6 separate regions of the Homo sapiens genome follow, and regions 2, 3, 4, 5 and 6 are each linked to region 1. The links are contacts of gene promoters, found by promoter capture Hi-C in blood cells and fetal thymus (Javierre and others, 2016). All regions are on one chromosome and are shown on one strand. The core of a region is centred on a gene start or on the middle of the fragment in contact, and the rest is flanking DNA. Distances in the headings are between cores, read along the strand shown. Region 1 holds the start of NCK1 (NCK adaptor protein 1). Region 2 overlaps PPP2R3A (protein phosphatase 2 regulatory subunit B''alpha). Region 3 overlaps PPP2R3A (protein phosphatase 2 regulatory subunit B''alpha). Region 4 overlaps MSL2 (MSL complex subunit 2). Region 5 has its middle 10 kb from the start of MSL2. Region 6 has its middle 11 kb from the start of PCCB.

Evidence for each region. The method cuts DNA at HindIII sites, captures the fragments that hold promoters and counts their contacts. A CHiCAGO score of 5 or more calls a contact.
Region 2: a contact is called between a fragment that was not itself captured here and the fragment with the promoter of NCK1 in region 1, in 1 of 17 cell types (fetal thymus). The highest score is 5.9, in fetal thymus.
Region 3: a contact is called between a fragment that was not itself captured here and the fragment with the promoter of NCK1 in region 1, in 1 of 17 cell types (fetal thymus). The highest score is 5.4, in fetal thymus.
Region 4: a fragment that was not itself captured here is called in contact with the fragment with the promoter of NCK1 in region 1 in 1 of 17 cell types (total CD4 T cells); the score reaches 5.5 in total CD4 T cells.
Region 5: a fragment that was not itself captured here is called in contact with the fragment with the promoter of NCK1 in region 1 in 1 of 17 cell types (total CD4 T cells); the score reaches 5.3 in total CD4 T cells.
Region 6: a contact is called between a fragment that was not itself captured here and the fragment with the promoter of NCK1 in region 1, in 1 of 17 cell types (naive CD4 T cells). The highest score is 5.1, in naive CD4 T cells.

The regions. Positions count from the first base shown.
Region 1 is chr3:136,860,275-136,864,038 of GRCh38, forward strand. It overlaps NCK1 (NCK adaptor protein 1), which reads left to right and starts at 1,934. Exons shown (of 4, transcript NM_001291999.2): 1 at 1,934-2,079. It overlaps NCK1-DT (NCK1 divergent transcript), which reads right to left and starts at 1,789. Exons shown (of 3, transcript NR_110177.1): 1 at 1,473-1,789. RefSeq lists enhancers at 863-912, 1,473-1,532, 2,593-2,672, 2,683-2,802 and a silencer at 1,893-1,952. The HindIII fragment of the contact is 9,923 bases long and covers 886-3,764 here.
Region 2 is chr3:136,085,616-136,089,379 of GRCh38, forward strand. PPP2R3A (protein phosphatase 2 regulatory subunit B''alpha) reads left to right here. Exons shown (of 14, transcript NM_002718.5): 9 at 2,268-2,316. Among named protein-coding and RNA genes, the nearest start is that of MSL2, 110 kb to the right of the region's middle. The HindIII fragment of the contact is 1,286 bases long and covers 1,101-2,386 here.
Region 3 is chr3:136,135,154-136,138,917 of GRCh38, forward strand. The region is part of intron 13 of PPP2R3A (protein phosphatase 2 regulatory subunit B''alpha); the gene reads left to right. Among named protein-coding and RNA genes, the nearest start is that of MSL2, 59 kb to the right of the region's middle. The HindIII fragment of the contact is 320 bases long and covers 1,763-2,082 here.
Region 4 is chr3:136,182,869-136,186,632 of GRCh38, forward strand. The region is part of intron 1 of MSL2 (MSL complex subunit 2); the gene reads right to left. Among named protein-coding and RNA genes, the nearest start is that of MSL2, 12 kb to the right of the region's middle. The HindIII fragment of the contact is 3,496 bases long and covers 133-3,628 here.
Region 5 is chr3:136,204,587-136,208,350 of GRCh38, forward strand. It overlaps the pseudogene RPL31P23. Among named protein-coding and RNA genes, the nearest start is that of MSL2, 10 kb to the left of the region's middle. The HindIII fragment of the contact is 2,366 bases long and covers 851-3,216 here.
Region 6 is chr3:136,237,574-136,241,337 of GRCh38, forward strand. No RefSeq gene overlaps it. Among named protein-coding and RNA genes, the nearest start is that of PCCB, 11 kb to the right of the region's middle. The HindIII fragment of the contact is 2,133 bases long and covers 625-2,757 here.

The DNA.
Region 1 (3,764 bases), core at 684-3,183:
AACCCTTAGAATAAACTCAAAATTCACCGCCATTATTCACTTTGGATGCTAATAACAGAATGTAGACATAGAGTAGCTGTTGCCCAGTTTCATGGTCTACTTGTCCCAGTCAACCTGAGGATAGTACAGCATAAATAGGTAAATTTGTGCTTGACCTTGTGATCCTACATATGGCAGGCTGTCTTAGTCCCTTTAGTGTTGCTAGAAAGGAATACCCAAAGCTGGATAATTTAGAAATAGAAAAGGTTTTTCGGCTTATGGTTCTGATGTCTGGAAAAGTTCAAGACTGAGCATCTGCATCTGATGGTAGCCTAAGACTGCTTCTACTCATGCCAGAAGGCAAAGGAGAGCTGGTGTGTGCAGAGATTACATGGCCAGAGAGGACGCAAAAGAAGAAAGGAAGTGCGACGTTCTTTTTAACCAGCTCTGGTGGAAATAAAGAGAACTCATTTACCCTCTCCCCAGGGAGGACATTAATCTATTCCTGAAGGAACCACCTCCATGACCCAACACTGCCCATTAGTCCCCACCTCCAACATTGGGGATCAAATTTCAACAGGAGGTTTAGGGGAACAAACATCTAAATTACAGCACAGGCCAACCACATGCATGCATTACCAATCACGTAAATAATTTTGAAGTTAAATGCAGAAAACTGCAAACTTTTGAGGCTGATATCCAGGGCCAGGATTAAAATAAAAAGTATTAATGCCTTAAACAGTATTTACTGACCATCTACCCTACTGCAAGGCCCTAGGGAGAAACTGAACAGACATGGTTACTGATTCAACGGAGTTTACAATCTAGGTAGACATACAGGCAAACCATTTCAATAGCTCGGATGGAGAAAACACCTGTGCTCCAAGGAAGGTACCTAACTGAGCAAGCTTCCCTGAGGAGCGATCCTAAACTGTGCCACAAAGATGGTTAAGAAGAGATGAGGCGGCTGGGCGTGGTGGCTCACGCCTGTAATCCCAGCACTTTGGGAGGCCGAGGCTGGCGAATCACGAGGTCAAGAGATCGAGACCATCCTGGTGAAACCCCGTCACTGCTAAAAATACAAAAACATTAGCTGGGCGTGGTGGTACATGCCTGTAATCCCAGCTACTCGGGAGGCTGAGGCAGGAGAATAGCTTGAACCCGGAGGCGGAGGTTGCAGTGAGCCGAGATCGTGCCACTGCACTCCACCCTGGCGACAGAGCGAAACTCGTTTCAAAAAAAAAAAAAAAAGAGGCAGGTTACGGCGCGGGGGCGGGGAAGGGGGCCTGCAGCACCGGCGAGGGGAAGAACCAACTTACTGATGCCTCAGCCAGTGGCTGGAGCCCTAAGAATGGACAGACCTGGCTCCGAAGGTCCTCTTCATAACACTACTGCCGCCAAGAATGTAAGCTGCCCAAGCACGAGGACACTTTTAGAGGGCCCTCAGACTCAGCTTCTTTTGGTCTGTGCCTCAAATTAAGCACATGTCTTACATTTCTCCCAGGTCCCAATTTTCAGGTCTGCTTTTCTTTGTTTTTCTTTGTCGCTCCCCGCTCCTAAGAACCTTCGGCTGGGATGACATTCTTCAGGTGCAGAAACCAGGGGGAAGCTCCCAGAGCAGTGGGGGCTGAACTCAGGACACAGTCATTTTTGCTGTTAAGTCTCTCCTGCGGCGCTGAGGAGGCAGGCTCAAAGTAACCAACCAGAGCAGCCGCAGAGGGAAAAGCTAAGACAGTTCTGGTCCGGCCCAGCGCTTCTCACCCTCTAGCTCTCTACTCTCCGCCGCGCAGCCTCCGCTCCCTCCACATCAGGCACGGCGCTTGATTGACATGAGGGCCCGCCCAATCCCAGTGCGGCAGAGACCGTTGTCGCGTCAGGGACCGGGGAAGGGGGCGACTGAACCTATCAGATTGGGTCCAGAGTGGGTTTCCTGCCCGCGCGGATCCGCCTGCCCACCGCGCGTGCCCCGCCTCTCTCCCAAGAGCTACGCGGCGGCGGCGGAGCGCAGGCCTCGTGCCGTTACGGCCATCACGGCGGCCGCAGTGGCGTCCTGGAGCCCTCCTCAGGTGAGCTGGAGCTGCCCGGCTCGGCAGCGGGAAGGTGAGACGGCCTTGTTGGCAGGCAGACACACACACACCCCCCTTCAGTCCGCTGTCCGTCCATACAGCCTGTTACTCGCTGCGTCGCTTCCTCTTCTCGCGCTGAGTTAGCCCCGGGGGCGCCGTCTGCAGGCTCGGAGCCGAGCCGGAGGGGGCGCGGAGGCTGCTCGGAGGGTCCAGACTTCTGCACCGGGATTCCGCGAGACCCTCGGGCCGTTGCCCCAGGGAGCGTGACCCCGCGGCCTCCTTGTCAGCCCCTGGAGCGCTGTGTCGGGCTGAGAGCCCGGGCGGCCGCCCGTGCGAGCCTGGGAGGTCGAGTGTGCGGCGCGCTGGTTGACTTGTCTGTTTTCTCATGAAAAAGTCCTTTTGCCAGCTGTGGCGTAATCCGAGGCCGGGAAGGTAGGGACGTGGTAGGAGGAAGGGCGCTCTCACCTCCAGCCCGAGAGGAGGGGAGGCGTCAGCCTGCGCGGTGCTGCGGGTGGACATCTTCGGGACGCGCCCTCTCCCCTCCCCCCACCCACCGGCCGTTTTCTAGTCTGGGGCTGTGACTTTAATGGTCTGGACCTGCTTCAGATTCGTACGCGAGTTGCTGGGGCTGTGAACTTTTGACTTGAGTTGTAATATGTTTGGTAAAACAAAAAACCATTTCGATAGGTTTTGTAACCTTTCTTCTGTATTAACATACAAGTTAAATTCGCCGTTAGAAGCTCAGGAAGCTGGGTTTTGTTCAGGGGTGAGGACGTAACCGTAGGAACGCTCTCGGTGTCAAACTGATGGACCCGGAGTCACCTGAAAATAATTATGCACGTTAGATTAGGTAAGAAGCCCTAGAAATTAGGAAAGAATTAGGTTAAAGAGAATTTCCTAACTCCTCTTTGGGTAGGGAGCAAAGCAGCTCAATGTCCTCCCAAAACGGGTGTTGCCAAAAGGTACTCATTTTTAAAATTTTACTTTGATAGACGTATGACAAACCAACTATAACGATTTCTTCAGCACCTGGAAACCAGTGTGCCTAGACTCTCAGCCTTCGGCGAGGTCACACAGTAAACGGAGAAATAACCTAAGAAGAAAGTTTTGTTTGGTAATTGTCAATAATATTCGTTCTTTTCTTTTTAAAACACTTAATTTTCTTGTGGGGGGTGGAGTCTGTGATATTCTTAAATAGGCATCCCATTCACAACTTGATAGTAATATGCACTGGTTGATAAATGGTGCTTTCTTTTCATCTTGACCACAAACTCTGAGACTTCTTTGGGAAAATTGTGATCTGTGGAAATTGGCTGTAATATCCATAAACATAGTTTGCAGAGTGTTCACATCTACTCAGCTGTTGGCTCATGTATTAAATTTTAAAATGTGTACTTATTTTTCTAGGCATTATCTTTTGTCCAGGTTTTGACAGTGCTTTCAGGTCCATCTAAATAAAATTTGAAACCTACGTGTAATGTTTTGTTCGATACTGAGGGAGTCCAGGCGGGGTAGCTCAAACCTGTAATCCCAGCACTTTGGGAGGCTGAGGCGGGCGGATCACGAGGTCAGGAGATTGAAACCACCCTAGCAGACACGGTGAAACCCCGTCTCTACTAAAAATACAAAAAAGTAGCCGGGCGTGGTGGCGGGCGCCTATAGTCCCAGCTACTCGGGAGGCTGAGGCAGGAGAATGGCGTGAACCCGGGAGGCGGAGCT
Region 2 (3,764 bases), core at 494-2,993, 770 kb before region 1:
TCATTCTTCTCTCATAAGATTGTCCCTGTTCTGTCCTTAAATGCCTTCTCAGGCACTGTTGATTTTTAAATGATACTTTAGCTTATTAGATATAGCAGAGTATGAATCTTAAATAAATGCATTGAATTTTGTTTTTGTTTTTTGGTATGGCTGTTACTAATGGTATGCATCTTAAGAAAAGGCTCATCAGGCAGGGGGCAGTGGCTCATGCCTGCAATACCAGCACTTTGGGAGGCCAAAGCGAGTGGATCACTTGAACCCAAGAGTTCGAGACCAGCCTGGGCAACATGGTGAAACCCTGTCTCTACAAAAAATACAAAAATTAAAAATTAAAAAATGTCTTTCAAATGACAAAAATACAAATATTAGTCAGATGTGGTAGCACATGCCTGTAGTCCCAGCTACTCAGGAGGCTGAGATGGGAGGATCTCCTGAACCTGGGGAAGTTGAGGATGCAGTGAGCCATGATGGTGCTGCTACACTCCAGCCTGAGCGACAGGGAGACCCTGTCTCAAAGAAAAAAAAAAAGGTTTGTTGTATATGATGTCAGGTTTCATAGAGCTTTGCGTATTTAAGAAATAAAGTTGGCCAGGCGCGGTGGCTCACGCCTGTAATCCCAGCACTTTGGGAGGCCAAGGCAGGTGGATTACTAGGTCAGGAGTTCAAGACCAGCCTGAACAACATGGTGAAACCCCATCTCTACTAAAAATACAAAAATTAGCCGGGTGTGGTGGTGCGTGCCTGTAATCCTAGCTACTCGGGAGGCTGAGGCAGGAGAACCGCTTGAACCCAGGAGGCAGAGGTTGCAGTAAGCCGAGATCACACCACTGTACTCCAGCCTGGGCGACAGAGCGAGAAGGGGCCACTGAATACTCCATAATTATCCACTCACCAGACTGTCCCTAATGAGACAACATAGAATAACATGATCTTCAATTTTAGGAAGCTAAACCTTCCCAAGCTAAAAAATGCCTTTAAAAAAAGATTTTGGCTTTACAATTAAATATCCTTGCCTTTCCTATATAGCCCTCTTTTTTTCTATCTAGTACAAATTAACCCCATAAACCAATGTTCAGCAAAATATAGAAGGTCTTTATATAAGCTTTGGTGTGTGGCCAGGCACGGCTGTTCCAATACACATATTCCCAACTTTCTTTGGCCAAACCAATTTACCTTTATGCTAACTGTACCTAACTATGTGCAGAAGAATTCGATGCTGATAGCTGCTAAGTCCCTAATGACCTTATTGATGATCCTGAAATTTTAGTGTGCATGCCATTGCCTGGGGCATCTGTTAAAGAACAGGCTGGGCATGGTGGCTCACGCCTGTATTCCTAGCACTTTGGGAGGCTGAGGTGGGCAGATCACCTGAGGTTGTGAGTTCAAGACCAGCCTGCCCAACATGGAGAAACCCCATCGCTAATAAAAATACAAAAAAATTAGCCAGGTATGGTGGCGCATGCCTGTAATCCCAGCTACTTGGGAAGCTGAGGCAGGAGAATCACTTGAATCCGGGAGGCGGAGGTTGCAGTGAGCCGAGATCACGCCATTGCACTCCAGCCTGGGCAACAGGAGCAAAACTCTGTCTCAAAAATAAATAAATAAATGAAAGAACAGGTCTCTAGTCGTGTCTCTCTCTCTCTCTCTCTCTCTCTCTCTCTCTCTCTCTCTCTCTCTCTCTCTCACCAACATGCTAACTTAAGCCACGATTATCTATGTGAATAAAACTTCCTGATGGAATTTCTAAAAATCTTATGTTATATCATGTTAAACCCTGGGCTTTTATAAAATGGGAATATAAGAAAAGTATGTTTGTAGTGTGTTTGAGTAGCTTTTAAAAAAACTACTTGAAAGCATTCTCCATTGTTTTAACTTCGTTTTGTTTTATTTTACATTGTTTTAGGAGCTTACACAATCAGTTCTCCCTTGAATTTAAGGATAAAACTTGTCTTGTTTATAGGAAAATTGGTCTCATTGGATAAGATCAAAACAAATCCTATATATTTTTGTCCTAGCTGTCAGGATGTTCAGACCTAACTTAGCATTCAACTATATTAATACTTCCCAGATGTCAGCCACATTCATTTGCCTGTTATTTTTTAAAATTATATTAAAATTATGCGTAAATAAAAATGTACTCACATTCTCATCATGGACGATGGTTACGGTTTAGCTTGTAGCTAGTGAAAAGCAAATTTGTGAAAAGTATTGCCTTTATGGAGCATGTTTCTAACTAGCTTTGCAATTTTTTTTTTATCTACATTTAGCTTCATCAAGCAGGATTATTGAAAGGATATTCTCTGGTGCAGTAACAAGGTAAGAAAACGTTTAATGCTGTGTTTAAAAATGAACTACAAGTAATACCATAACCATCTCATTTTAGCAAAGCTTCCTGAATAATTTGGCAGTGCTATTGGACCAAATAATATCCTATAAAACATAGTTATGGCTTAATACAAGACAGTAATTCTTTTTTAAAAAAATAATTTCAACTTTTCTGATTCAGGGGGTACACGTGCAGGTCTGTCACATGGGAACACTGGGTGATGATGAGATTTGGTGTATGGAGGATCCTGTCACACAGGCAGTGAGCACAACACCCAACAGGCAGTCCCTCAGCCCTCACTGTGCTCACTCCCTACCCACTTCAGCAGTCCCCAGTGTCCATTGTTCCCATCTTTATGTCCATGTGTACTCAGTATTAGCTTCCACTTACAAGTGAGAACATACGGTATTTGGTTTTCTGTTCCTGTGTTAATTCGCTTAGGATGATGGCCTTCAGCTGCCTCCATGTTGCTGCAGGGACATGATTTCATAATTTTTATGGCTGCATAGTATTCAATGGTATATATGTACCACATTTTCTTTATCCAGTCTACTGTTGGTAGGCATCTAGGTTGATTCCATGTCTTTGCTATTGTGAATAGTGCTGGATAAACATACAAGTACCTGTATCTTTGTGGTAGAATGATTTATTTTCCTTTGGGTATATACCCAGTAATGGGATTGCTGGGTCGAATGGTAGTTCTGTTTTAAGTTCTCTGAGAAATCAACTGCTCTCCACCACAGCTGGACCCATTTACATTCCCACTAACAGTGTATAAGTATTCCCTTTTCTCCACAGCCTCACCAGCATGTGTTACATTTTGACGTTTTAGTAGTTGACATTCTGGCTGTTGTGAGATGGTATCTTGTTGTGGTTTTGATTTGCATTTCTCTAATGATGAATGATGTTGAGATTGTTTCATGTTTGTTGGCTGCCTGTATGTCTTCTTTTGAGAAGTGTCCGTTCATGTCCTTTGCCCATTTTTAAATGGGGTTGTTTTTTGCTTGTTGATTTAAGTTCGATATAGAGTCTGGATATTAGACCTCTGTTGGATACATAGTTTAAGAATATTTTCTCCCATTCTGTAGGTAGGTAGTTAAATCTGTTGATAGTTTCTTTTGCTGTGCAAAAGCTCTTTAGTTTAATTAGGTCCCAATCATCAATTTTTGGTTGTGTTGCAGTTGCTTTTGAGGACTTAGCCATAAATTATTTGCCTAGGCTAATGTCAAGAAGGGTATTTCCTAGGGTTTTTTCTAGAATTGTTATAGTTTCAGGTCTGATATTTAAGTCTTTAATCCATTGTGAATTAATTTTTTATATGGTAAAAAGTAAGGGTCTGGTTTCATTCTTCTGCATATAGCTAATCAATTATCCCAGCACTGTTTATTGAATAGGGAGTCTTTTTCCCGTTGTTTGTTTTTATCGACTTTGTCAAATA
Region 3 (3,764 bases), core at 673-3,172, 730 kb before region 1:
CAAGAGGAGACGCAGAGACCAGCTGGAGTGAAATTCAACCGTTGTATATGAGAGGCTCTTGCTGCTTGCTGGATACCCCACTTCTGTTGTGGGAGATAAGATAAGGCCTACACAGAACACATGTGGGTTATGAGGTCCCAAGGGGCAAGGAGGCTTACAACAGCCACAGTCTATAGAGCAAGCACTAGAATGTGAACAAAGGAAAGGAAAGGAAAAAGCCCGTTTACAGGAATAACAACTGACCAACTCGTGCAAAAGCAAGGCCAGACCTAAATTCCCAAGGCTAAATCAACTAGGGTTTCATCTCAAGAAAGAATCACAGATATGTCAGGGAGAGTCTAATTGTCAAACAGAAATTGCCAGACTCAGGTATCAGAAAGGGAGGAATGTTAGTACCACAGAAAGACCAGAGGCTTAGGAGCCAGACAGATCTGGTCCACTCACCAGCTGGGCAGGTTACTTGACTCCTGAGGCTCAGTTTCAGAAGGCATCAGCATCCACTTCCTGAGGTGGTTGTGAGAATCTAAGATATTATATGTAAACACCTGGCACATGGCTCATGATAAATAGTAGCTATTACTACTCCATATAGGAGAAATACAATGTAACATCATGGGCCCACTGCAGTGGCTCACGCCTGTAATCTCAACACTTTGGGAGGCCGAGGCAGGCAGATGAGGCCAGGAGTTCGAGACCTGCCTGGCCAACATGGCAAAACCCCATCTCTACTAAAAGTTAGCTGGGCGTGGTGATGTGTGCCTATAATCCCAGCTACTTGGGAGGCTGGGGCGGGAGGATCATTTGAATGAACCTAGGAAGGAGGTGGAGGTTGCAGTGAGCTGTGATCATGCCATTGCACTCCAGCCTGGGCAACAGAGCAAGACTCCGTCTCAAAAAAAAAAAAAAAAAAAAAAAAAAAATTATATATATATATATATATAAAAAACATCATGGTTAAGAGCATGAAATTTGAAGTTAGACGAACCTAACTTCAAATCCTTGCTTTATCACACAAGCTGTGTAATCTCAGGCATCCAAGCCTCAGCATCCTCTATAAAAATAAGGGTACGACTTGGCACACTGAGCTGTTTTAAGGATTAAATAAGACAGTGTATATAATATAAGGCCCTTAGGCATAGTGTCTGTGTAATCAATAAACAATGGCTATTTATTGCTACCACTTTTGTGATCACATTACCTAACCTCTCTGAAGTAGAGTTTATTCAGCTGTAACATTAGCATTCTATCCCTTATCTTGTTCCCTTCACTCCTAGGGCACATTTTACTGCTTGACACAGTAAATATCTGTTGCATGAACAGCAGGATTGTACTGAGAATTAAGAGATAATGTATATAATGAATCTAACAGTGTCTGGTATATTAATGCTAAAAAAAAATGGAGCTATTTGTTTTACCATTAGATTGTGAGCTCCTCAGGGGCCAAGAACGTTTTCTTAGTCTTGTAGTCCCAGCACCTGGCAAACTGTTACGTAGGAGGTCCTCAGCAAATGTTTACTGAAAGGCACAGACCACAGCAATACAGCAGCCACCCTCACTACAAGGATATCTACAGTAGTCCAGATGATTTGGCCCTCCAAAAACAACTTAAAATCCTCCACCTACTTTACCATCTAACAACAATCACAGGTAGCCATTGTGCTAAGCATCTGTACCTCCTGATTTCAAGACTGGTACTTATGTAATGTCTTCAGTAAGTAACCTCGTAATCACTGCAGGTCTCAGTGAGGTGAAGCAAGACCAAAGCTTCCGTAAGTATGAGGCTGTAAACATTGCAAATTAACATGTCTAGCACACAAAGTGATCACAGCATACAACAGCATTTATATAAACTCAACCCTCGTAAGAGAAGCCAGAAAGACAGGGTACCAGTTACTTAATCCAAGTCAACTAAATGTGTTACCTATATGAAGATAACAGGTTATGATACCATATTTATAATTAACATTCTTATGGTTTATGCAATGGAGTACATTAAAAACACCACAGAAATTATGTAAAGAAGGCTAAAGGGTCTTCCATGTTACTATCCTAAGAAACTGAGACCCTCAATAATCAGAAACAAGCTTTTCTGCCAATTTGACTAATACTTGAAAAAATGGAAAATATAAAGAGATTAAAATCACTCTTGGTTCAATGATCCAGGGATAACCATTATTTTATACTTGGTATATTTCTTTTTAACACTTGTTACTAATGTGTTCAAAAACAGGAATTTTAGTGCTTCAGTGTTCTCAAGCAGTAACTCACATCCATTTCCCTATTATTGGACATTTGGGCAGATTAGAACTGTTTTCTATTGAATGTTTTTAAAGGCAGCTTTTTCCTTTATATTAAAAATATATGAATTACTCTGTCAGAGATTTTTTTTTTTTTTTTTTTTTTTTTGAGATGGAGGCTCGCTCTGTCGCCTAGGCTGGAGTGCAGTAGCGCGATCTCCGCTCACTGCAAGCTCCGCCTCCCAGGTTCAGGCCATTCTCCTGGCTCAGCCTACCGAGTAGCTGGGACTACAGGCGCCTGCAAGCACACCCGGCTAATTTTTTGTATTTTTAGTAGAGACGGGGTTTCACCGTGTTAGCCAGGACGATCTCGATCTCCTGACCTCGTGATCCGCCCACCTGGGCCTCCCAAAGTGCTGGGATTACAGGCGTGAGCCACCGCGCCCGGCCTCTGTCAGAGATCTACATTTACATCCATCAGCACTGGAAACTAAGGCACTATAGGTAAAGAAAGCCAGCCAGAAACCCATTAGAGCAATCGTCCAGGAATGTAACTAGTGAGAAGTATGAAGCCCAACTCTCCTCAGTGAGGTGGGAGAATGTAGGAGAGGAACAGGGAAACAGGGAGAATGGAGGCTTGTGTGTATATATTAGGGTATAGGGAAAGAAAAAGAAGGAATGACATGAATTAATATTCTAAAACATGAGTTATAATATTACAGATATATGAGTTTAGAATTATTTTTTAATGCTTAATAAACAGAGCCTCTACGTGGGCCTGAAGTTAATGTTTTATTTTTTTCCACATTGAACGAACCATATCAAAGCCCAATTTTAATTTATTTCAACAGATATTTACTGGTACCTACTCTATGCCAGGCACTGTGCTTGGTAATAAACATGAATTCAGACCGCGTCCTTCCAGTTCATAATTAGAATATATTTAGCCCACATTTTTATGCTGTCTACATCCACAATGAGTAAGAATTAACAGTTGATAGCTCATGATTCTGAAGAACTGCAAGAGTTCCTTTAACCATCAAAACTGAAGTGAAATCTACTTCCTGGGACAGGAAAGCAAGTGGTACATATTAGGAAACTTCAACAAGAGTTGAAACTAAAGATTTTCTGGTCACTGGATGGGTTAAGGAAATTCAGTGAACCAAATATCCAACTTCCAAAATTTCAGCTAATCCATTTTATATAAGTGGCTTAGGATATCTATTTTTAACTTAAAAGTATAAAGATAAATCACACACTTGTATTTCTGAAGCATTATAGACTCCAAACTAGAGAAATATTGAATTTTTTTTTTTTTTTTTTTTTTTTTTTTTTTTTTTGAGACAGTTTCGCTCTTGTCATCCAGGCTGGAGTGCAGTGGCACAATCTCAGCTCACAGCAACCTCCACCTCCCAGGTTCAAGCGATTCTCCTGCCTCAGCCTCCCGAGTAGCTGGGATTACAGGCATGCACCACCACGCCCAGCTAATTTTGTATTTTTAGTAGAGACAGGGTTTCTCCATGTTGG
Region 4 (3,764 bases), core at 631-3,130, 680 kb before region 1:
GCAGAGTAATTCCTCCTTCCACTACCCAAAGTGAGAATCTCACAAGGCATCAGATGAGTAGTCAGAAGGTTCCTGCCCTCAGTAGCATGGAAAAACTAGTCTCTAAAAGCTGCTGCGACTCTGCTGAACAAAAGCTTAAAAACAAGCCTTGAAAGGATCAAACAGTCTCCAAGTAACTTAGCCTCATCCCAGAACGAAGCTCAAGAATATTTGTAGTACAAAAATATCCAGCAACAAAGTAAAATTTTACAAGGTAAAACTCACAATAGCTGGAAAATTAACCAGGCCAAGAAAGAAGCAGGAAAATATAACCCATGATGAGAAGAAAAACCAGTGCGAGCAACAAACCCAGAAAATGAAAGATGATAGAATTAGTAAACAACATTAAAAATGAAATTTATATTAAGCCAAATGCGGTGGCTCACTCCTGTAACCCCAGCACTTTGGGAGGCCAAGGTAGGAGGAGAAAAATACTTGAGGCCAAGAGTTCAAGACCAGTCTGGGAAACACAGGGAGGCCCCACCTCTATGAAAAATTTTTAAAATGAAAGTTTTGTTTTTTGGTTTTTTTTTGAGACAAGGTCTCACTCTGCCACCCAGGCTGGAGTGCAGTGGCACGACCTCGATCACTGCAACCTCTGCCTCCTGGGCTCAAGCAATCCTCCCACCTCAGCCTCCCAAGGGTCTGTGACTACAGGCACGCACCAACCATGTCCAGCTAATTTTTGTATTTGTTGTAGAGGCAGGGTTTTGCCATGTTGCCCAGGCTAGAAAAATCAAAGTTATTAAAATGGTAGTTATTTTAACTATATTCCATAAGTTCCAAAAGGTTTCATAAACCTACCAACAGAGCTTCAAAATACATGCAGCAAAAACTTATGATAAAACTCTGAAGAGAAACTGAAAACACATATAGTTCAGATTTCAACTCAATAACTGACAAAACTACTAAGAGTCTGTAAGAACAGAGAAAATAATGAACAATACTATCGACTAACCTGTGAAAATGTTTTAACTGACCAGAAATATTGTGAATCAACAACTGTTCTCTAACTGCCAAACAAGATAAAGCAATCCTGACTCTTATCCAGGTAATAAGATTTCACAAAATAATTGAAGATCACATCATTAGAATTCTATGGTCCTGGCCAGGCGTGGTGGCTCATGCCTGTAATCGCAGCACTTTGGGAGGCAAAGGCGGGCGGATCACGAAGTCAGGAGATAGAGACCATCCTGGCTAACACGGTGAAACCCCGTCTCTACTAAAAATACAAAAAATTAGCCGGGCGTTGACGGTGGGCGCCTGTAGTCCCAGCTACTCGGGAGGCTGAGGCAGGAGAATTGCTCGAACCCGGGAGGCGGAGGGTGCAGTGAACCCAGATGGTGCCACTGCACTTTAACCTGAACGACAGAGTGAGACTCCGTCTGAAAAAAAGAATTCTATGGTTCTGGGCTGGGCACAGTAGCTCATGTCTGTAATCCCAGCACTTTGGGAGGCCAAGGCAGGCAGATCACCTGAGGTCAGGAGTTCAAGACCAGCCTGGCCAACATGGTGAAACCCGTCTCTATAAAAACACAAAAAAAAATGAGCTGGGCATGATGGCAGGAGCCTGTAATCCCAGCTACTCCAGAGGCTGAGGTGGGAGAATCCCTTGAACCCAGGAGGCGGAGGTTGCAGCGAGCCGAGATCCCACCATTGCACTCCAGCCTGGACGACAGAGCGAGACTCCGTCTCAAAAAAACAAACAAACAAAAAAAAGAATTCCATGGTTCTGAACAACCTCCAGCGTACAAGAAGGGGCCTGGATAAATCCTTCATTCCTGAGAATTACAAACCCGAATTCTTACAGGAGCAAGTTAGATAAAGGTTAAAAAAAAAAAAAGGGGGGGGGGGGGACAAAGGTCACGTGTGACCAAGGACAAACTGAGGAGGACATACTCCTACCACCAAAGAAAAAAGCCAATCTCTCAAATCTAGCCAATGATGCTAGCCAATAATGGAATGCTTCCAATTCAATGCTTCCACTGTTGCAAAACCTCATACTTTTCCAGGAAGTGCCTAAAAATTTGGATTTTTATGTGAGGTCTAGGTTTGGAAACAGTAACCACCAACTCATTTTTTTTTGAGACTGAGTCTTGCTCTGTAGCCCAGGCTGGAGTACAGTGGCAGGATCTCAGTTCACTGCAACCTCCACCTCCCAGGTTCAGGCAATTCTCCTGCCTCAGCCTCCCAAGTAGCTGTGATTACAGGCATGCGCCACCACACCCGGCTTATTTTTTGTATTTTTAATAGAGACAAGGTTTCACCATGTTGGCTAGGCTGATCTCAAACTCCTGACCTCAAAGGATCCGCCAGCCCTAGCCTCCTGAAGTGCTGGGATTACAGGCATGAGCCACTGTGCTCAGCCCAATTCAGCAAATTTTTAACAAAGCTAAAAAAAAAAAAAAAAAGTCTGGAAATCAAATTCATAGCAAAAGTTATGCTTTAATCCAACAACCTCATCTTACAAATGAAACAGAAAAATCATTCAAGTCATCATAGAAGATAACTTCATCTAACCTTATCTAAAATACTATAGATATGGACACAAAAATCACCCTTTTAGAGGAAACTAAAACAAGGATGCTACCAGAATAACTTGGGACACAACTCTTTTTTTCTTTTTTTTTGGAGGGGGGGGTGGGGGAAGGGACAGAGTCTCACTGTCGCCCAGGCTGGAGTGCAGTGGTGCAATCTTGGCTCAATGCAACCTTCGCCTCCTGGGTTCAAGCAATTCTCCTGTGCGCACCACCACGCCCGGCTAATTTTTGTATTTTTAGTAGAGACAGGGTTTCACCATGTTGGCCAGGCTGGTCTCAAACTCCTGACCTCAGATGATCCACCTGCCTCGGCCTCCCAAAGTGCTGGGATTACAGGCGTGAGCCACCACGCCTGGCCAGGACCCAACTCCTCAGGAATGACAAAGCTGTCTTCCAACGCTGAAGGGCAAAATTTTATCAAAGGCTTTCTGAATTATTCCAGAAGACAAAACTAAAATCAATGGAGACAATTACATACAGACAAGGTAACTTGGGGAAAATGGAAGCCAAAAAAAAAAATTGTTCTAAAAGAGGTTGTCAAAACAACAGCATGGCTGTTTTGCAGAATATTTAGCTCAATTACCACAACCATATCGCTAAAAATCCCTGAAGAATTCTTTAACTAGGCTATCCTTACATTACTTCAAACCTAGACTACCTCAACTCTTCAGGTTCCCCAAAAATCAACATCCTTCCTTACTTCATTTCTGATATGAACTAAGTGACCTTTTGACTCCTTCAATTTTTCCCATATGTCTGTGTCAAACTGCCAGGTTTTGTCAGTTCTTCAACACCATTGTATAACTGTCCCTAGATATCCATGGGTGATTGGTTCAAGCATCTCGCTTGAATACCAAAATCTGCAGATACTGAAGTCCTTGATATAACACAACATAGTATTTGCACATAACCTAAGCATATCCTCCTCTATTCTTCTAATCAGGGGTCCCTAAGCCTCCAGGTTATGGACAGGCTCCGGTCCTTGGCCTGTTAGGAACCAGGCTGCACAGCAGGAAGTGAGCAGGAAGTGAACTGGGTCCAGCAAGCAAAGCTTCACAGCCACTCCCCACTGCTCGCATTACCACCTGAGCTCTGCCTGTCAGATCTGCAGTGGCATTAGACTCTCATAGGAGCACAAACACTATTGTGAATTGTGCAAGCAAGGCATCTAGGCTGCACACTCAT
Region 5 (3,764 bases), core at 784-3,283, 660 kb before region 1:
TGTAATTTTTACAGTAACCAACAAATGTCAAATATTTTCCTCACAAGGTTGAAATATCCTGCGGCTTCTCTATGAGTTCTCTGTGGCACCTGGGGGTACGTTAGTGCACTCTTTGGGAACCAGAGATCTAAGACAATAGGATAATCTAGGATTATGAAGAGATTTTTACGGTTTTTTTTGTTTGTTTTTTGTTTTTTGTTTTTTCTGAGACGGAGTCTCGCTCTGTTGCCCAGGCTGGAGTGCAGTGGCCCAATCTCGGCTCACTGCAATCTCTGCCTCCCGGGTTAATGCCATTCTCCTACCTCAGCCTCTCAAGTAGCTGGGACTACAGGCGCCTGCCACCACGCCCGTCTAATTTTTTGTATTTTTAGTAGAGACGGGGTTTCACCGTGTTAGCCAGGATAGTCTCAATCTCCTGACCTCGTCATCTGCCCGCCTCAGCCTCCCAAAGTGCTGGGATTACAGGCGTGAGCACAGCGCCTGGCCAGAGATTTTTATATAATAATCATTGCAGTTGTTTATACTATTTTAAAAAGAACCAATCCAAATTTCCAGATTGAAAACAACCTATATTATGGATATATCTACATAGTAGAATATTATATAGCTATTAGGAATGATGTAAAAAATTAAAATGATATAAAAATGTATTTATTGACAGGGGAAGATATTCATAATATATTAATTTTTTTAAACCCTGATTAACAGAACAATTTTGGAAAAACTAAATATCCATGCATGGTAAAAAGATGACTATAAAGACATACACCAAAATATTATTTTTTTCTGGATAGTGGGATTGTGGAAAATACTTGTTTTTCTTATTGTCTGTATACCCATTTTGAATTAAAGCTTCCCTCTTCTATTCTCCAATATTGCCAAGTGCTTACCTCTTTCTTTTCTTTTTTGAAGGCAGTTTTATAATTTTATTCGATGTATTTGACGATCAGCGATTAGTTCTCATCCACGTTGAGTCTACAGATTTTTGAAGGTGGTAACAGGTATATAGGTAACCAAAGTATAGAAATTATTTGGTGAATCTTCATCCTCATTACGTTTTCTGGACAACAGCACACAGATTCAGTATGGAACATTCCTTGTTCCTTTGGCCCAGACAGCTTTGTTGAGCCTGGTATCAATGTGCACATCTGGAGTTCCCATCTCCTTCATGGCACATTTCCGAATCTCTTTGAGTGCCCTAGGGGCACACTTCTGGAAGCCCGCTCCATAGATGTGGTTGTGAATGTTGATGGTGTATGCTCGGGTCACTACCTCGTTGATAGCAGAACGGCCTTTTTTCTTCTCGCCACCCTTCTTTGTGGAAGCCATTCTGCCAGGTCCAAGTTGATAAAAAGCGTGTTTACCTCTTTTGTTGCACTACCACACTATGCTGCAGTTGTTGGTTTAGCCCTGTTTCCTCCCCATTATATTTCTATAACTCTTAGGAGGTCAGTTTTCTCCCTCTTTGCCTCTTATCCTCATTGCTTAGCATAAGGTCTGACATATAATAGGAATTCAATAATTGTTAAAATAATGATTAATGTGACAATATAAGTAAATTCACTAGTATAGTGTGTAGTACCTAATAGGCATGGAAAATTGTTTGCTTTTTCCTTGGGGAGAGATATAAAATGCCTTACAAATTTGAAGCCAGTTCTTGTTTCAGCTTGATCAAATCAATGTTAATTATAAGGTCCTTAATAAAACCAAAAGTGTGAATTGATTTGAAACACTCAGAATATCAATCATCAAGTATTTATTGTATGCACTCTAGCACTTTGGAGACAATGAAGTAAATACAGAAATAGTTGTAGTTATGTTTTCAAAGAACAAAGATCAGGCAAGCAGTCAGAGAGACTTTCTGACGGGTTAGATTGTTTACAAAATAGCTAATTTTTGTCTTCCTTTCCCTTCCTCTTTCACCCTCCTTCCTCTGTCCCCTCCTTTATCTTCCTCCACCAAAAACTCTCTGTAGAGATGATGTTCCCTCTCCCACTTTCTCAAGTTGCATTCTCCCTCATTGCTTATTATTTCTATCCCATCGTTTTCACCATTATACACATCCCTACCAGATTTTAACAAATGCCTGGCCGGGCACCATGGCTTATGCCTGTAATCCTAGCACTTTGGGAGGCCAAGGTGGGTGGATCACCTGAGCTCAGGAGTTCGAGACCAGTCTGGGCAACATGGCAAAACCCCGTCTCCACCAAAAATACAAAAAAATTAGCTGGGTGTGCTGGTGCACACCTGTGGTCCCAGCTACCTAGGAGGCTGAGGTGGGATGATTGCTTGAGCCTGGGAGGAGGAGGTTGCAGTGAGCTGAGATGTCACCACTATACGCCAACCCAGGTGACAGAGTGAGACCCTGTCTCAAAAACAAAAGCCACAAATGCTTAATCTACTGTCATTGTGGAAACCAATAAATCTAATTAAACACAATCTATGGGAAAGTAAAAATAGCATAATCTAAACTCATGAAAAATCTTCAGAGATTGGCCAGGGTAGTACTTCTTTATAGGGAGCAGTAAACCAGATGAAATTAAACTAGGCTGTAATTCAGACTGATACTTCTGTTCTTTCCTGATCATTCCTTTCTGACCATTACCAAACTTCCTCTTCCATCCTCTGCTCTTAGCTGTGGTCATAGCTCTCCCCTCCTCAGTCCTAGAGCTCCCAAGAACCACCTCCCTTCCCCCTCCAAGCAATTCCTGCTGATATTTTTTCCATAACATTTTCCAAATCAATGTATCTCTCCATTGATTTAATCCAAAAACATGTATTTAGCAAGTCAAGCACTCATTTATTTTACACCTCAAATATTAAATTTTTTTTTTATCTTCTTCATCTCTAACTCCAGCCTTAACAAAGCAGCTTGCTTTATTGGTCATCTACCTAAGACAGTGCCAAACGCATTAAGGGATCCACTAAATGTTACTGTTTTTATTCCCCAAGACACTTTCAACAGTATTCAAATGCCTATTAAATTTGTCCATTCATTTATGCAACCAACGTTTATTGCCAGTTATATGCCAGGCATTCAGAATACAAAAATGAATAATTCAACAGTTTCTAGCCCTCAAAGAGTTCACAGTCTAGTTGGGGTGGCAGCTATGTACACGGCTAATTTATAATTCAGAGTAGTAAGGATTTAGGGATCTACTTGACGCAAATCTAAAATGTCTTAGCAGATATGGCTGTTACATTATGAGTTAAACAAGCTTGTGTGGACTTTCCTGAGAAAAATAACTGCAATTATTCATGGCATTGTTTCTAAGGGAAAATGTGTTCTGCATTCCAAACAGTCAATTTAAAATTGAATTTTTGGAATACAGCCCATTTTCCCCTGGGGGCTATTTCTCCATTATCTAAGAATCCCTCTCTGTCTTAGGACAGTTTTCATACACAACTCCCACCTGTTCTACATAGCATATGGTACTACCTGCAGGTTGCATAGTTTCATGGTCATCACCTTCCTCACCTGGGCTCTGCACTACATGTTTAAGATAGTCCTCTGATCAAGCAGGTTGAGTTAAGCAGGTAGGACTGAAGTAGCCCCAAATCTGACTGTTTTAACATTTCACTATTAGAGAAGGTAGTGAGGAAGAGTCCATCAAGTAAGTGATGAAAGTTTGGAATTGCTGCTCTGTGAAAGGGAGAGGGAGTTGATTAAGGACATTAAAAAAGATTACTCATGCGTGTAATCCCAGCATTTTGGGGGCCAAGACGGGCGGATCACGAGGTCAGGAGATTGAAACCATCCTGGC
Region 6 (3,764 bases), core at 441-2,940, 620 kb before region 1:
TTAGAAGGCTCCTGGAGATAGTCACCATTATATCATCCTGGCCAACCCCTACATGTCACGCAGTGCTATACATAAAAGGAGCTTAGTTCAACCATCCTAGGAAAGAAGTCGTCACAAACGCTGTGCTGTTTAGACAATCCTGTGGCCCAGAATTGATATTTTCCACTTAAACTTCCCAGTGTACTATCTCTTTTCCCATTCCCCAAATCAACTACTCAAAACCGTTCTCCACTTTCCCAGGGTCCTTTAATCCTCAGTACCTTGCCCCACTTCATACTTTTTCCCATATACATTGGCCCAGTAGAGGGTGTGGCATACATAGATAACTGTCAACTAAAAATTTGTAATCCTTCTTCTGCTGTGTGGAGTTGCTACTGGAAAGTGGCTGGCCAGCCAGGGAGTACATTGTCATCCTTGCCCTTGCGTCCAGGTGGAGGTGGGGTCTTTAATAAACAGGGCTTCCCTTCCACTTGTCTTCTTCCCCATTCTCCAGTTGAATACAGACAAATCTAGGGATGATGAACCCACAAGACAGAAGAAGCCTGGGTCCTTAAATCACCGCAAGGGGGAAAGCTGCCCACCGTGTGGAAGAATAGCTACACTAGAATGTCAGGGTAAACAACAAGCTTCTATTATGTTAAGTAACTTAAACCTTGGGGTTTGTTACAGTTGCTAGCATTATTTTAAGCAATATAGAGATCATTTGTCCTTTTCTAAGATCTTTCTCATGCTGGGGTGTGAGCATGTTACTCAGTCTCTGCCAATTTGATGTTCCCACTCAATATTATAAGTGGGGGAGCCCACTATGCAAAGATACGCAATAGTATGAAAACTATTCACAGTGGCCTTGCAAATCCAGAAGCAGTCACAGCAAGGTCTGTCAATAGTGGTATCTAGGTCAATGTCCACTGTTCTTGTGGCATGAGCTTAGCTGTGTTTTTCTGCTTCTAGATTATCTTGCTTTTTGACTCTTTTCTATCCCCCTTGATAATTCCTTCCTTCCAATAATTCATTTTCTTCTTTAGGTATCCAGGATCAGTTCTCATGTACATTGTCTTTCCCATCTATTCTGGATTCTCTTTCCAAACTAGAGTGGGATTATCACTTTTTTTTTTTTTTTTTTGAGACGGAGTCTTGTTCTGTTGCCAGGCTGGAGTGCAGTGGCACCATCTCAGCCCACTGCAACCTCCGCCTCCCGGGTTCAAGCAATTCTCCTGCCTCAGCCTCCCGAGTAGCTGGGACTACAGGCATATGCCACCACTCCCAGCTAGTTTTTTATTTTTATTTTTATTTTTATTTTAGTAGAGATAGGGTTTCACCATATTGCCCAGGCTGGTCTCGAACTCCTGAGCTCAGGCAATCCACCCGCCTTGGCCTCCCAAAGTGCTAGGATTACAGGCGTGAGCCACTGCGCCCTGCCGGGATTTTTACTTATTAAACATCTATTGCATACCGTGTACTCTACATATGTTTTCTCACTTAATTTAATCCCTCCAACTATTCTATAGGGTCAATATTATTATCATGATTTTATAAGTGAAAAAACTGTAGCTGAAAGAGATGAACTGATTTGCCTAGTTACACTGCTTGTTAGTATCATTTGGAATCCAGTTTTACAGCACCAAAGCATGCTTTCCATCCTACCAGAAACCCTTCACTAGCTCATAATGAGGGCAATCCTCTCCAGCGCCCTTTCTAGCCTATAAATTGTTCTGGAAGTGAGGAATGCATCAATATTTACTTAATCCTTTCTTACATACAAAAGGGGTTATAAGGAAAGTTCTGTTGTTGCAGCTGTTTTCTAAGCCTTCAAACAATATTGTTTTTCTTTTCACTTTTTCTTTTCCTTCCCTCCCCTGCTTCTGTCTGTCTTTCCAAAACAACAAACTAAGGGTAACTGCAGAAGGTACAGTGGTGGCACCGCTTCATTTAGTTCTCTTGCTGACTTTCCTTAGACTGCACTGCAGTCTAAGAATGCTTCTTCCCAACCTTCCCTCTTTCTCTCATTCACTCAGGATCACACTTACATCAATCATAGGGTTGAAATTTTGAGCGAGTTGGATGGGAAGAACCATATCCTAATAAAAAGTAATGATCTTTATTACTTTTTTTTTTTTTTTTGAGACGGAGTCTTGCTCTGTCTCCCAGGTTGGAGTGCAGTGGCGTAATCTTGGCTCACTGCAATCTCTACCTCCCAGCTCAAGCCATTCTGCCTCAGCCTTCTGAGTAGCTGGGATTACAGGCGCGTACCACCATGCCCAGTTAATTTTTGTACTTTTAGTAGAGACGGAGTTTCACCGTGTTGGCTAGGCTGGTCTTGAACACCTGATCTCAAATGATCCGTCTGCCTCCGAAAGTGCTGGAATAACAGGCATGAGCCACCGCACCCAGCCTTGAAAATACATATGTCAGGTAGGAAGATAAAACCTATTTTATTTAAAAGTTTGTGTATTAAAAGACATGGTCAAAAGAATGCAAAGGGCTGGGTGTGGTGGCAATCTTTATTACTTTTGATGTTCCCCAGTGAGTATATCTTAAATGTCAACACCACCCGTAGGAAACTAGATAGGTTTCCCATGGTTCATGGGAAAGAAGCTGGCTCTAGTAATGGAGCTGAGCGTCAGATAATCCCCTCTTCACAGAGAAACTAGAGTAGCAAGAGAGAAAGTTCTTTCAATGACTGAATACCCCATGTATCTGGAACCACTGGGTACTGGAAACACAGAAATAAAAATGATAGAGTCCTTATCCAAAATAAGCTTATAATCTCATGGGGAGTCATATATGAATAGCTAATTTGTTTCCAGTTTCTAGATGTTAACCTCAATTGCTTTAGAACAGCATAATTCATACCAAAAGCTCAAAATCACCCATTATAATAAAAATAATTGTGAAAGTATCATAACTCATATAGTCTTTTAGAAATGCAGGAGGAATTATAAAAGAAAAAGAAGAAGAGAGGCCACTAATTAAAACAAACATTTCTTAATCTAGTGCCATGACTCTTGCCTTAGAATTTTCTAAGCAGCTGGAAGAGGGATAGGAAAAGCGAGGATGGAGAATAAAGGAAAAAGAAAGAGTATTTCTTGTATCCTGGCTGCACTTTGACTTACCTGTAACCCAGTATCAGTATCCAGAAGGGAGAGAATCACTAAGGCTGTTTTGGTTGAAATAGGAAAGGGCATCCTCACGGTGTTAGAGTCAGTATATTCAGAAGACAAGACTGGAGCTGTTCTTGTGAGTTCAGGGGCTCTTTGAATTTATATCCCTTTTCGTATCTTCCACCGTTCCAGCCAGGTGAACCTAGCATACCACAATTCTCAAAATGTACATCCCAATTCTATTACCAGGGATAAATTTTTTGTTTTGTGTTGTTTTGTTTTTGTTTTTGTTTTGAGACAAGGTCTCTCTAAGTTGCTCAGGCTGGAGTTCATAGGCATAATCATAACACACTGCAGCCTCAAACTCCTGGGCTCACACGACCCTCGGCCTCTCCAGTAGCTGGGACTAGAGGTGTGTGCCACTGCCTGTGGCTAATGTATAAATCTAAGTGGAATTGGAGCATATTGTAGGTAGGAAGGGTGAGGTCATCAGCAAAATCTGAAGAAGTGGGCTGGGTACAGTGGCTCACACCTGTCATCCCAGCACTCTGGGAGTCCAAAGTAAGTGGATCGCTTAAGCTCAGGCATTTGAGACCAGCCTGAGTAACACAGCAAACCCCCATCTCTACAAAAAATACAAAATTTAGCCAGGTGTGGTGGTGC